2 separate regions of the Homo sapiens genome follow, and region 1 is linked to region 2. Evidence: promoter capture Hi-C in 16 types of primary human blood cells and fetal thymus (Javierre and others, 2016). All regions are on one chromosome and are shown on one strand. Each heading gives the region's core, a stretch centred on a gene start or on the middle of the fragment in contact. The rest is flanking DNA. Distances are from core to core; before and after follow the strand shown. Region 1 holds the start of JAZF1-AS1 (JAZF1 antisense RNA 1). Region 2 holds the start of CYCS (cytochrome c, somatic).

What was found. Contacts are between HindIII fragments. The CHiCAGO score rates a contact against its expected background, and 5 or more counts as called.
Region 1: the fragment with the promoter of JAZF1-AS1 here is called in contact with the fragment with the promoter of CYCS in region 2 in 3 of 17 cell types (naive CD8 T cells, non-activated CD4 T cells and total CD4 T cells); the score reaches 7.1 in naive CD8 T cells.

What each region holds. Positions count from the first base shown.
Region 1 is chr7:28,178,345-28,183,557 of GRCh38, forward strand. JAZF1-AS1 (JAZF1 antisense RNA 1) reads left to right here and starts at 2,113. Exons shown (of 4, transcript NR_034097.1): 1 at 2,113-2,195. JAZF1 (JAZF zinc finger 1) reads right to left here and starts at 2,451. Exons shown (of 5, transcript NM_175061.4): 1 at 2,119-2,451. The coding sequence starts at 2,233. RefSeq lists enhancers at 670-1,171, 1,172-1,671 and a silencer at 1,526-1,645. The HindIII fragment of the contact is 6,606 bases long and covers 1-2,912 here.
Region 2 is chr7:25,124,010-25,129,081 of GRCh38, forward strand. It overlaps CYCS (cytochrome c, somatic), which reads right to left and starts at 1,251. Exons shown (of 3, transcript NM_018947.6): 1 at 1,191-1,251; 2 at 1-118. The coding sequence starts at 110. It also overlaps a transcript of SPMIP4 not described here. RefSeq lists enhancers at 176-720, 721-1,264, 1,412-1,661. The HindIII fragment of the contact is 6,168 bases long and covers 859-5,072 here.

The sequences.
Region 1 (5,213 bases), core at 863-3,362, 3.1 Mb after region 2:
AATATAATTTATACTGTCTTTTAACCAGCTTGTCTAAGTAGGTAGGCAATGGGGTAAAATTATTACTCAGCTTATATAAATTATAGTTTATTCTGAAATAACTGTTAGCGAGAATGGATGGGATATGCAATGACAGCCTTCTGTAAGTCAAGAGAAATTATTTATTTATATTACTTATATCATACATATTAATGTATAGCATTATCTATATTTATTTTTTACTTATTATTGGGAGTAAGGGGAAGAACTTGAACTAGTAACATTTCTACCAGAACTTCACAGTACCGGTGTTTTCGCTTTATTTTAAACTAGCCATCATGAAAAATCTGATTTAATACTTTCAAGCACTTTCAGTTATGACTATTCAATCATGATATGAATCAGCAAATTGGTTGCTCCATTAAACTGCTTTTAAGACTACCAAAACTTGCCCAGCTCTTCTGTCATACCTTTAGCAGAGGAAATGGAAGAAGCTATTACAAGGACGCCTGAAAACTTGAAAAGTTTCAAAACCTGGACAATTACTCAACAGCATTTTCCTCTGAAAGACATTTTGTAGACGTTTCCCATGATTATCTCCTATTCCGGATGGCCCATCAAATCACATTCTAAACAGGCATTCAACACTTATTAAGCAGCCACTGTGTGCAGAGACAGCACTATACTAAGCAAAGGAGCATAGGGTTCTGCCTCATTTTATTCCTGCATAAATACACAGCAGTCGTGATTTATTCTCTCAACTTTGTAGAAACGTGAGCTGCATCCACATGGCTGAATCCATGGCATTCATTTGGACTTCCTGGGGGCAATTTACAGGTTCTCTGGATTAGACAGCCCCATTGGGACATCGCTCGGACCCTTCACCTTCTAGCCCACGCAGGACAACTCGCTGGCGTCGGTCACACCTTCCGCAGGTGGTTGGACCGCCTAAGCCAGATGCACCCGGCCCACCTCCCTTAGCAGGGGTTCCGAATAGAAGTGTGAAAATGTGTGCAATGACTTCTGCAAATCAGAGGACTTGTTGAAAGGTCCAGGGGTCCAGGCGTGAAGGGAAAGCAGCCACCCTGCGGGGCGCCCCCTCCCCGGCGTCTCCCGGGCCCGGGGCGCTGCGCAGGCCGCCGCCGATCCCAGGGCGCAGCCAGCGCACCTCGGGCCTAGCACCATTAGAAAGGCAAATCGCAGAGCCGGGGTGCATTTAAATGCCCGGCCATGGGCCCTGGGGGTGTCTCTCCAGCGGGCGCCGCCGCAGGGGCCTCCAGGGCGCGTCGACCCCGGGGCGCTGGGCGCGGCCCGCGGGCGCACCCAAGACCTCAGCCCGCAGCGCCCGGGCGTCCGCGCCAGGCCGGGGCAGGGGAGGGCACCCAGAGCCCCCGGGCCCGCGTCCCCGGCCCCGCCCGGGCCCCTCGGCCGCCTCCCAGGGAGAGGGCAAGCTCCCCGGCCCCCGCCCGCGGCCGCCGGCCCCGGCCCCCTCCCGACGCACCACACCTAGCAACCGGCGCTGACAGGACGCAGTGGCGGCGGCGGCGGCGGGAGGAGGAAGCGGAATGGCTGCCGCGGTGGAGCCACCCCCGCCCCCCCGCTCCACCTCCCCGCGGCTGCAGCCGCCGCCGAGCCCTGACAGCTCGAGCCGGGGCGGAAGCGCCCGGCGGCGTGCAGCGCCCGCCCCCCGCTGCCCTCAGCGCCTCGGGCTACTCCGACCACCCGGGCCAACTAACTCCGCGACCCTGCCCAGCGCCCAGCTCCCGCCGCCCGCCGCGCCCTCCGCCCCGCGCCCCGCGCGCCGGCACTCGGCCCCGCCGCCGCAACCCCGCCGCCCCGCCGCGGCGCTCCCCGCTCCCACCACTTCGCAGCCCGCGTGCACGCCCCTGAGTCCCCCAGCCGCCCGCCCGCCCGCCCGCGGCACCTCGGGGCGCCCGCCCCCTCCCCCACCCGAGCCCGCTCCCCGCCCCCCGGCACCTCGCGCCCCCGCATCCCGCCACCCCCACCTCGGGGCTCGCACGCGCCCTCCCCGCCCTGCCGCCTCCCTCCCCGCCGGCCACCCCTGGCCATTCCGGGGCTCCCCGCCCGGGCAGGAGTTTCCGCGCGCCTGGCACCCCCGCCCACCCCCGGGCCATTTACCGATGTGGTTGTCCTCGATGTGCTCGATGAGGTCGGCCAGGGTGGGGAAGTGGAGTCCGCAGCCCCCGAATCGGCAGGTATTGGAGAAGAAGGAGGCGGCGGCGATGCCTGTCATGGTGCTACATCGAGAGCCCCCCTGGTGTCGGCTCTGCGAGCGCCGGGCGGGCGAGGGAGGGAGGGAGGCCGGGTGGGGTGAGGAGAGGAGGGGCTGGGGGAGGGGGAGAGAGGCGGGGTGAGGGGAGCGGCGAGGACGGGACGGAGGGAGAGGGGGCGAGAGAGATGGAAGGAGAGCGAGGAGCCACCGGGAGGCAGAGGGGAGGCGGCGGCTGCGGCGGCGGCGTCGGGAGCGGCGGGGGGAGGGCGGGGGCGGGGGCGGGGGGGGAAGGCCGCCGCAGCTGGGAGGAGGGACCAGGGCGCGCGGCTACAGCTGTGCGGCCCCAACCTCAGCGCGCGGACCCAGGCCTCACCTGCGAGCCCTGCCACCAACTTTATCTCGCTAGGCCTGCCCTTTACGGCTTGCCATCCGTGCCATCTGTTTGGAGCCTCCTTGGTTATGTATATGACGTTCTTAATACACCCACATCGATTAATTACACCTACCTCCCTGCGAGGAGAACTCAGGGAGTTACCCTGGTCCCTCTCAGGGACATTTTTTTGTACTCAGCCACCTGTCTAGGTGTGACACATTCACAGGGGACCCAGGAAAGGTAATTGTGTGCACCTTCTTCTTTAAACCTTCTTTAGAAAAAGTACACATTCTCCGGAGGTTTGTACTAACTAATTGATTTTAATGAAGCTTTCCCTCTAGGCCAGAAAAAAATCTTAGCTTTATTTAAATTTCAAAATAGAGTGCTTGGTTGTCAAGTGCATTTGCCTGTGTTTTACATATGTGCCACGTTTTTTATACTCCCTGCTCCTTCTAGGAAAACAAAAACTAAAATAATTTCATCACCCGAAATTACAGCACCCTACTGCACCCACTCCACCATCTCAGGTCTGGTAATTAACCCATCCTCGTTTCAGCCACTGCAGAAAGGACAGTGCATTGGTTAAGGCTAGAAGGAGCGGAAACAACGGCAAGGGACATAGTGACTCTTCATTTAAAAAGGAAGCGATTTCATCCTGTGAGCATTTAAAGCATAATGTTGACCAGGTAACCACTTAAGGTGAATTTAGTAGCTTCCCTGAAAACCAGCATTTTGCTGAGAATCAATTACTTTCTTGTCCCCACCCCCTCCTCCAGTTGCAGTCATATTTCTTCTGTAAAGTGTGTATTTTCCAGTAGCACTTTTCCAGGTGTCTAAGAAATATTACACATTATCAGCAGTTTATGACCCAACAGTACATTTTTTTTATTAATATTAATATATGCATACTGAATTTAGCATTTTTCCTTAGGGCAAATTTCACTTACCCTCTGGTGCAGATGCATGGAGAAATAGTATTCCTCCCTCCATAAACTCTATGCATCTCTGTCTAGTGTTATTTCTAATAATGGGATTGTTTGCTTTTCATGTAAGTGCTTAGAGTAAAGGCACATGTAATATGTCTGTTGCTACAGGAAGTTTTATGATCTGACCATCACCGGTGGCATTTTCTCTTCTCATCTCTTCTGTCTTGCAGCTCACAAGGTGACAAACTTGCTGAGATGAGATTCGGCTTGGGTGGGGCTGGGGCAGCTGTGTCTTGAAGTTCAGTTTGGTGCCAAGAATGGTTTCATGGGCCCAATGAGGGTGGGGGCAGGGCCCTGGTGGGCCTGATAATGAGCCAGGGACCGAGTTGGCAGGGGACTGAGGCCAAGGCCAGACAAGGGTCTAAAGAGCAGGAGTTAGAATTCTAGATCTTGAATTAGAATTTTGGCAGCTGTGCAGTACATTCAGCTGCCCAATCTGGGAAGGCCTTCAGCTGAGAGCAGGCAGAATATCTGGCAGGCACACACCACACCAAATGACATGGAAATGCAATACAAAACTTCAGCCAAAAATGATGCCAAAACAGCCACCCTTAGAGATGAATGTTAGGCACCCCCACTATGCAGCATCTGGGAGCCCCAAAAGCTTTGAAGAAGTAGCAGTTCTGTCCTCCAGAGGAAAAATTGTCTACGTGGAGTTATTAACTCCCAAGAGTGTGGAGAGGTGGTTCAGGCAAGAGAGTTCCGAGATGGGAAGTGCCAGAAATGTGCAGGTGAAAGATGAAGGAAGTAAGGGGCCTGGGTTTCACTAATGCATGGCTTTCTACTACCTCCTGTCAGTTTCACTATTCCTAAAATAAAACCTTGCTAGACCAAATTGAAAAAAATAGATTTTTTAAAAAATGAAGTGAGCTAAAATAACTTCCAAAGTAAATCAAGATATTGGTTTTTAAGACAAAATTATTTTCTCTACCTTGGATAATTATTACTGTTTTGTAAGGAATCAGTTCATTTTGCCTGAAAATAATCCACCCTACTACTTCTTCATATGTGACTGAAGCTTTGTTTATGTGATGTTCTGCTCATACTACTTTTTAAAAATCTGTACACTCTAGGCATTTCCGGTCTTTATATAAGATACATGATTGTGATCTCTTAGACCTGGAAGATACTCTGGCTGTCAGAACCACTGGTTTTGGAGATGTGGTAAACTGAGGCCGGGGCATCAAGCAAGTTCTCCCAGGTGCACACAGACAGTTTTTTTCTCTGTACTCATGGTGCATTTAGAAGGCATTGATAGACAATAGAAGGACAAATTATATATAGATAGTAACCACAGGCAAAGTTTTTTAAAAATTGCTAATAGCATGCTTACCTTTCTGTACTTATATTTTTAAAATGTTTGTTTCCAGGATATCCCTTTAGATAAAGTCAACATCTAAGCTACAAAAATATATAAAACAAACAATTCAACTTATTACATCCGAGAGAGAAGGTGATGACTGATATACCTCTGTACTGGCAAAAAACATCTGTCTGATTTGGAAAGTAAAAATATTTGAAAGGAGAGGGAAAGTGAGGGAACTGAGAAGTCAGAATGATATGACAGTGGCTGTAGACAAGAAGCATTCTCTGGGTTTAAGAGCCTTTTCTTGAAAACCATCTGTCTCTCCCCAGAGCCCAG
Region 2 (5,072 bases), core at 1-2,500:
AAGAGACCATGGAGATTTGGCCCAGTCTTGTGCTTGCCTCCCTTTTCAACGGTGTGGCACTGGGAACACTTCATAATAAAAATCTTCTTGCCTTTCTCAACATCACCCATATTTAATTCTAAAAACGAAAGCTTCAACTTAGTAAATTTTTCCTCAGGTAACAAATACAGTGTAAATGAATGACCACTCTAGCCACTTAATTACCAATCCATTGCTAATTTATGTCATTAAATACCAGAATGAATCTTGTTTTGCTTTAATACTCTTTATACCAAATATTCTTTAATACCAAAAACATTTTTAGGAGTACCTCCTCAAAAACGTATTTTTGTGTGTATACGTGAAGGAACGTTAAAGCCCAAGCAAAGAGGGAACCTAATTCAAACTCCAGTTTCAGAAGAGACAATCATGGTCACGAAGTCACAGATCTGAAGCTCAAGGGCGAACACATTAAGCCAAAATCACCACAACCGCAACTTTTAAAAAGACCTAACCATTTAATCTTACTACAATGTAAAGCCACCTCTCCCTGAGGATAACGCAAAGCACACAAATGTTTAAAAAGCGGTCCTGGCTGTTTCTATCTGCCCAGGTCACAGGAGTAGCTTGACACTCGAACTTGTGAATGGGAGCTCAGGGGCAGGCTGCACGGTCCCCCGGGGACATCCCAACTCCCCTACCTGTGATCTCCTGGGGCGACCACGAGGTCACCCGTCCAGGTCGGTTTCAAGGTGATTGATGAAACTCCTTCTAGGATGTCAGAACGACTGACGGAAGAAACATGTGCCCACGAAAAGAACTGGCCCCTTATTAGAAGAGCAACAGCTTTTGCCCTCTGAAGAAGAACGTGAAGCTCTAAGCTTCGGCTTTCCAGGAGGGAAGTCTTGCCTATCATTTCCATAGCCCTTCAGCAACCACTACGGAAGAGGCCGCCTCCTCCTCGGATCTGTATCCAAGCCGCCTCCAGTCCCTGACCGAGACCATACCTGTCCCTAGTTAGGGCTCCGCCGCACCTCAAGCCGTTACTCGCCCAGCTCGGTCTGACCACAGTCCAGGGTCTTCACTCCCCGCCCTCCCACCCAGCGCGGGCTCCACTCGAATGCTCCCCGCTTGGGTTTCGGTCGCTCGCAAGTGCGCGCCTCCCACAGCTCTGCCTCTAACCAGGTGCGGCCTCCGCGACCCGCTCTCACCTCTTTTTAGTCGCTGGCACAACGAACACTCCCGCTCCGAAGCCGGACGTCCCCACTCTCTAAGTCCAAGGACACGCCGGTCCGCGCTTAAGTACCGGTGTAAGTGCAACCAAACTCGCTCCGCGCTCCCGCGCCCTGACGTGCGGCCGAGCTGGCGGCTACGCAGTAACGTCGCCGCACCTCATTGGCTCCAGTCCCAATGCCTGCGCCAAGGACCTGCGCGCGCATGCTGGCGAGCATGTTAGGGTGTACGGCGTGCGTGCCCTTCTTCTCGAGGCTTTTCCCGGCCGTTACGACAGGCCTTTGGTCGTACGACAACGAGGTGGTGTCGGGAGAGGTGACGTCACTCGCGGGCCTCTGTGCGCTTGCGTGTGCTGGAGGAGCGGGGAGGGTGGGGCGGAGTCGCTTGGTTGGTGCGTTGCCCTGCTAAAGTATCAGTTCTTGGGCGTGGTGATGTAATGAGCTTTGAGCAGGGCGTTTTGCCGGTCCAGGAAAAGACGCCCTAATTTTGGCGCACCTAGAGGTCTCCTAGCTACCATCTTGTCAGCAGGCGACCTTTACCCAGACTCTGTCCTACTACCACGGCTGGCGCCAACAGCATCCTAGAGGGACAGCCTGGAACCAGGAGTTACACGAGTTGGGCACCAGCTCGTGACCTTGTTCTAGTTCCACCTATACTCTGTTACTTTCAGTCACATTCCAGCTCTCCGCTTGATGGACGCCCCAAGACTGAGGAAGGTGCTGCATTTGCGGCAGAGACAGGATTATCCCTCTGGAACTGAAAAATAAAATTAAGAGGATGCAATGATAACATTTATGTACCTTTTAAAATTTTTATGAGTACGAAGTAGGTAAATATATATATATACTTAAGAGGTACATGAGATATTTTGATACAGGCATACAATGTATAATAATCACATCAGGGTAAACGGTCTATCCATCACCTCAAGCATTTATCCTTTTTTTCTGTTACAAGCAATCCAATTATACTTTTAGTTTGTTTAATGTACAATAAATTATTGTTGAGTGTAGTCACCCTGTTGTATTACTAGACCTTATTCATTCTTCTTCAGTGGCGCCATTTAATGTCTCAGCCCCCCAAGTAGCTGGGACTACGGGAGCAAACCACCACGCCCAGCTAATTTTTGTATTTTTAGTAGAGATGGGGTTTCACTATTTGGTCAGGCTGGTCTCGAACTCCTGACCTCAGGTGATTCACCCGCATCGGCCTCCCAAAGTGCTGGGATTACAGGTGTGAGCCACCACGCCCAGGGCAAATAATATTTTATAACCCATTGTTTTAAACTGATGACAACATAACATTGATTGCATAAACAAAAATCAAAGAGAAAACTAAGAAAAACTCTGCACTTTAACTTCACTCTCCCCACTTTTAAAACTTTTTCTTGTTTCTATTTATATATTATTATACTATGTCTTGAAAAGTTGTTATAGCTATTATTTTTGATAAGTTAGGTTAATCTCTAAGTCTTTCTACTCAAGATATGAACAGTTTACACACAATTACAGTATTATAATATTGTGTGTTTTTCTGTGTACTTACTATTAGTAGTGAGTTTTGTACCTTCAGGTGGTTTCTTATTGCTTACGAATGTCCTTTTCTTTCAGACTGAGGAACTCCCTTTAGCATTTCTTGTAGGACAGGTCTGGTGTTGATGAAATCCCTCAGCTTCTGTTTGCCTGGGAAAGTCTTTATTTCTCCCTCACATCTGAAGGATATTTTCACTGGATGTACTATTCTAGGATAAAAGTTTTTTCCCTCAGCACTTTAAATATGTAATGCCACTCCCTCCCGGCCTGTAAAGTTCCACTGATAAGTTTGCTGCCAGACTTATTAGAACTCCTTTTTATGTTATTTGTTTCTTTTCTCTTGCTTGCTTTTAGGATTCTTTCTTTATCCTGGATCTTTGGGAGTTTGATTATTAAATGTTTTGGGGTGTCTTCGTTGGGTTAAATCTGCTTGGTGTTTTATAACCTTCTTGTACTTGAATATTGATATCTTTCTCTAGGTTTGGGAAGTTCTCTGTCATTATCTCGCTGAATAAACTTTCTACCCTGATCTCTCTCTCTAGCTCCTCTTTATGGCCAGTAACTCTTAGATTTGCCCTTTGAAGCCAGTTTCTAGATCTTATAGGTGTACCTCATTCATTTTTATTCTTTTTTCTTTTGTCTCTTCTGAGTGTGTATTTTCAAATAGCCCATCTTCAAGCTCACTAATTCTTCCTTCTGTTTGATCAATTCTGCCTGTAAGGGACTGCATTTTTTAGTACGTTAATTGGATTTTTCAGCTTCAGAATTTCTGCTAGATTCTTTTTAATTGTTTTAATCTCTGTTAAATTTATCTTGTAGAATTCTGAATTTCTTCTCTGTGTTATCTTGAATTTTGTTGAGCTTCCTCAACACAGCTATTTTGAATTCTCTGTTTGAAAAGTCACATATCTCTTTCTCTCTGGAATTGGTCACTTGTGCCTTCATTAGTTTGTTTGGTGAGGTCGTGTTTACCAGGGTGGTCTTGATGCTTGTGGATTTTTGTTGGTGTCTGGGCACTGAAGAGTTAGGTATTTATTATTGTCTTCACAGTCTGGGCTTTTTATTTTTTTGTATCCACCCTTCTTGGGATGGCTTTCCAAGTATTTGAAGGGACTTGGGTGTTGTGATCTAAGTCTTTGGTCACTGCAGCTATATCTGCATTAGGGGCCATCCGAAGCTCAGTAAAACTATAGCTTTTGCAGACTTGTAGGGGTATGACATTTGTGGTCTTGGGTAAGATCCAGGAGAATTACCTGGATTACCAGGCAGAGACTCTGTTCTCTTATCTTACTTTCACCCAAACAAATGGAGTCTCTGCACTGAGCTGTCTGGAGCTAGGGGAGAGGTGACACAAGCACCCTTGTGGCTGCCTCCACTGTGACTGTGCTAGGAGAGACCTGATGCCAACATAGCACTGGGTCTGGTCCAAGGCTTGCAGTGACCACTGTCTAGCTACAGTAGCTTATGTTTCCTCAAGGCCTGCATTCAGAAGCTGGTGAATTCAGCCAGCCTTGTGTCCTTCCTATCAGGGCAACAAGTTCTCTCCATCTTCAAGTAGGTCCAGAGATGCTGTCTGGAAGCCAGGGCTTGGGGTCGGGAACCTTAGGAATCTACCTGGTACTCTATTCCACTGTGGCTGACCTGGCACCCAAACCACAAGATAAAGTTATTCTCACTCTTCCCTCCTCTTTCCTCAAGCATCAAAGTCCTTCCCCATGACCACCATTGCACTAGCCCATGGCTAGTACTTCCTGGCTATGCCAACATTCACTCAAGGCACAGGGGCTCTTCAGTCAGCTTGTGATAAATGCTATTAGTCCCGAGTTTCTCCTTTCAGGGCAGTGGGGTCCTCTTTGGCCCAGGGCATGTCCAGAAATGCTGTCTAGGAGCCAAGGCATGGAATCAGGGACTCCAGGAGCCTGCTTGGTGCCCTACTCCCCAGTAGCTGAGCTGGTATCCAAGTCGCAAGACAAAGTCTCCTTACTTTTCCCTCTCCTTTCCTCAAATAGGAGTCTCTCCCCTGAAGCCACCACACCTGAAGCCAGCATGGCTGGCTACTACTACTGATTATTCAAGCCCAAAGTCTCTTTAGTCAGCAAGTGATGAATCTTGCCAGGCCTGGGCTCTTCCCTTTAAGGCAACAGGTTCCGTTCTGGCCCAGGGTGTCTCTAGAAATTTCATGTGGGGGCTAGGGCATGAAATGGGGGCCTCCCCCTAGTGCACAGTTCTACCGTGGCTGAGCTGGTATTCAAGTTGTAAGACAATGTCTTCTTTACTCTCCCCTCTCTTCTCCTCAAGTGGTGGGAAGGAGTCTCTCCCAGTACTGTC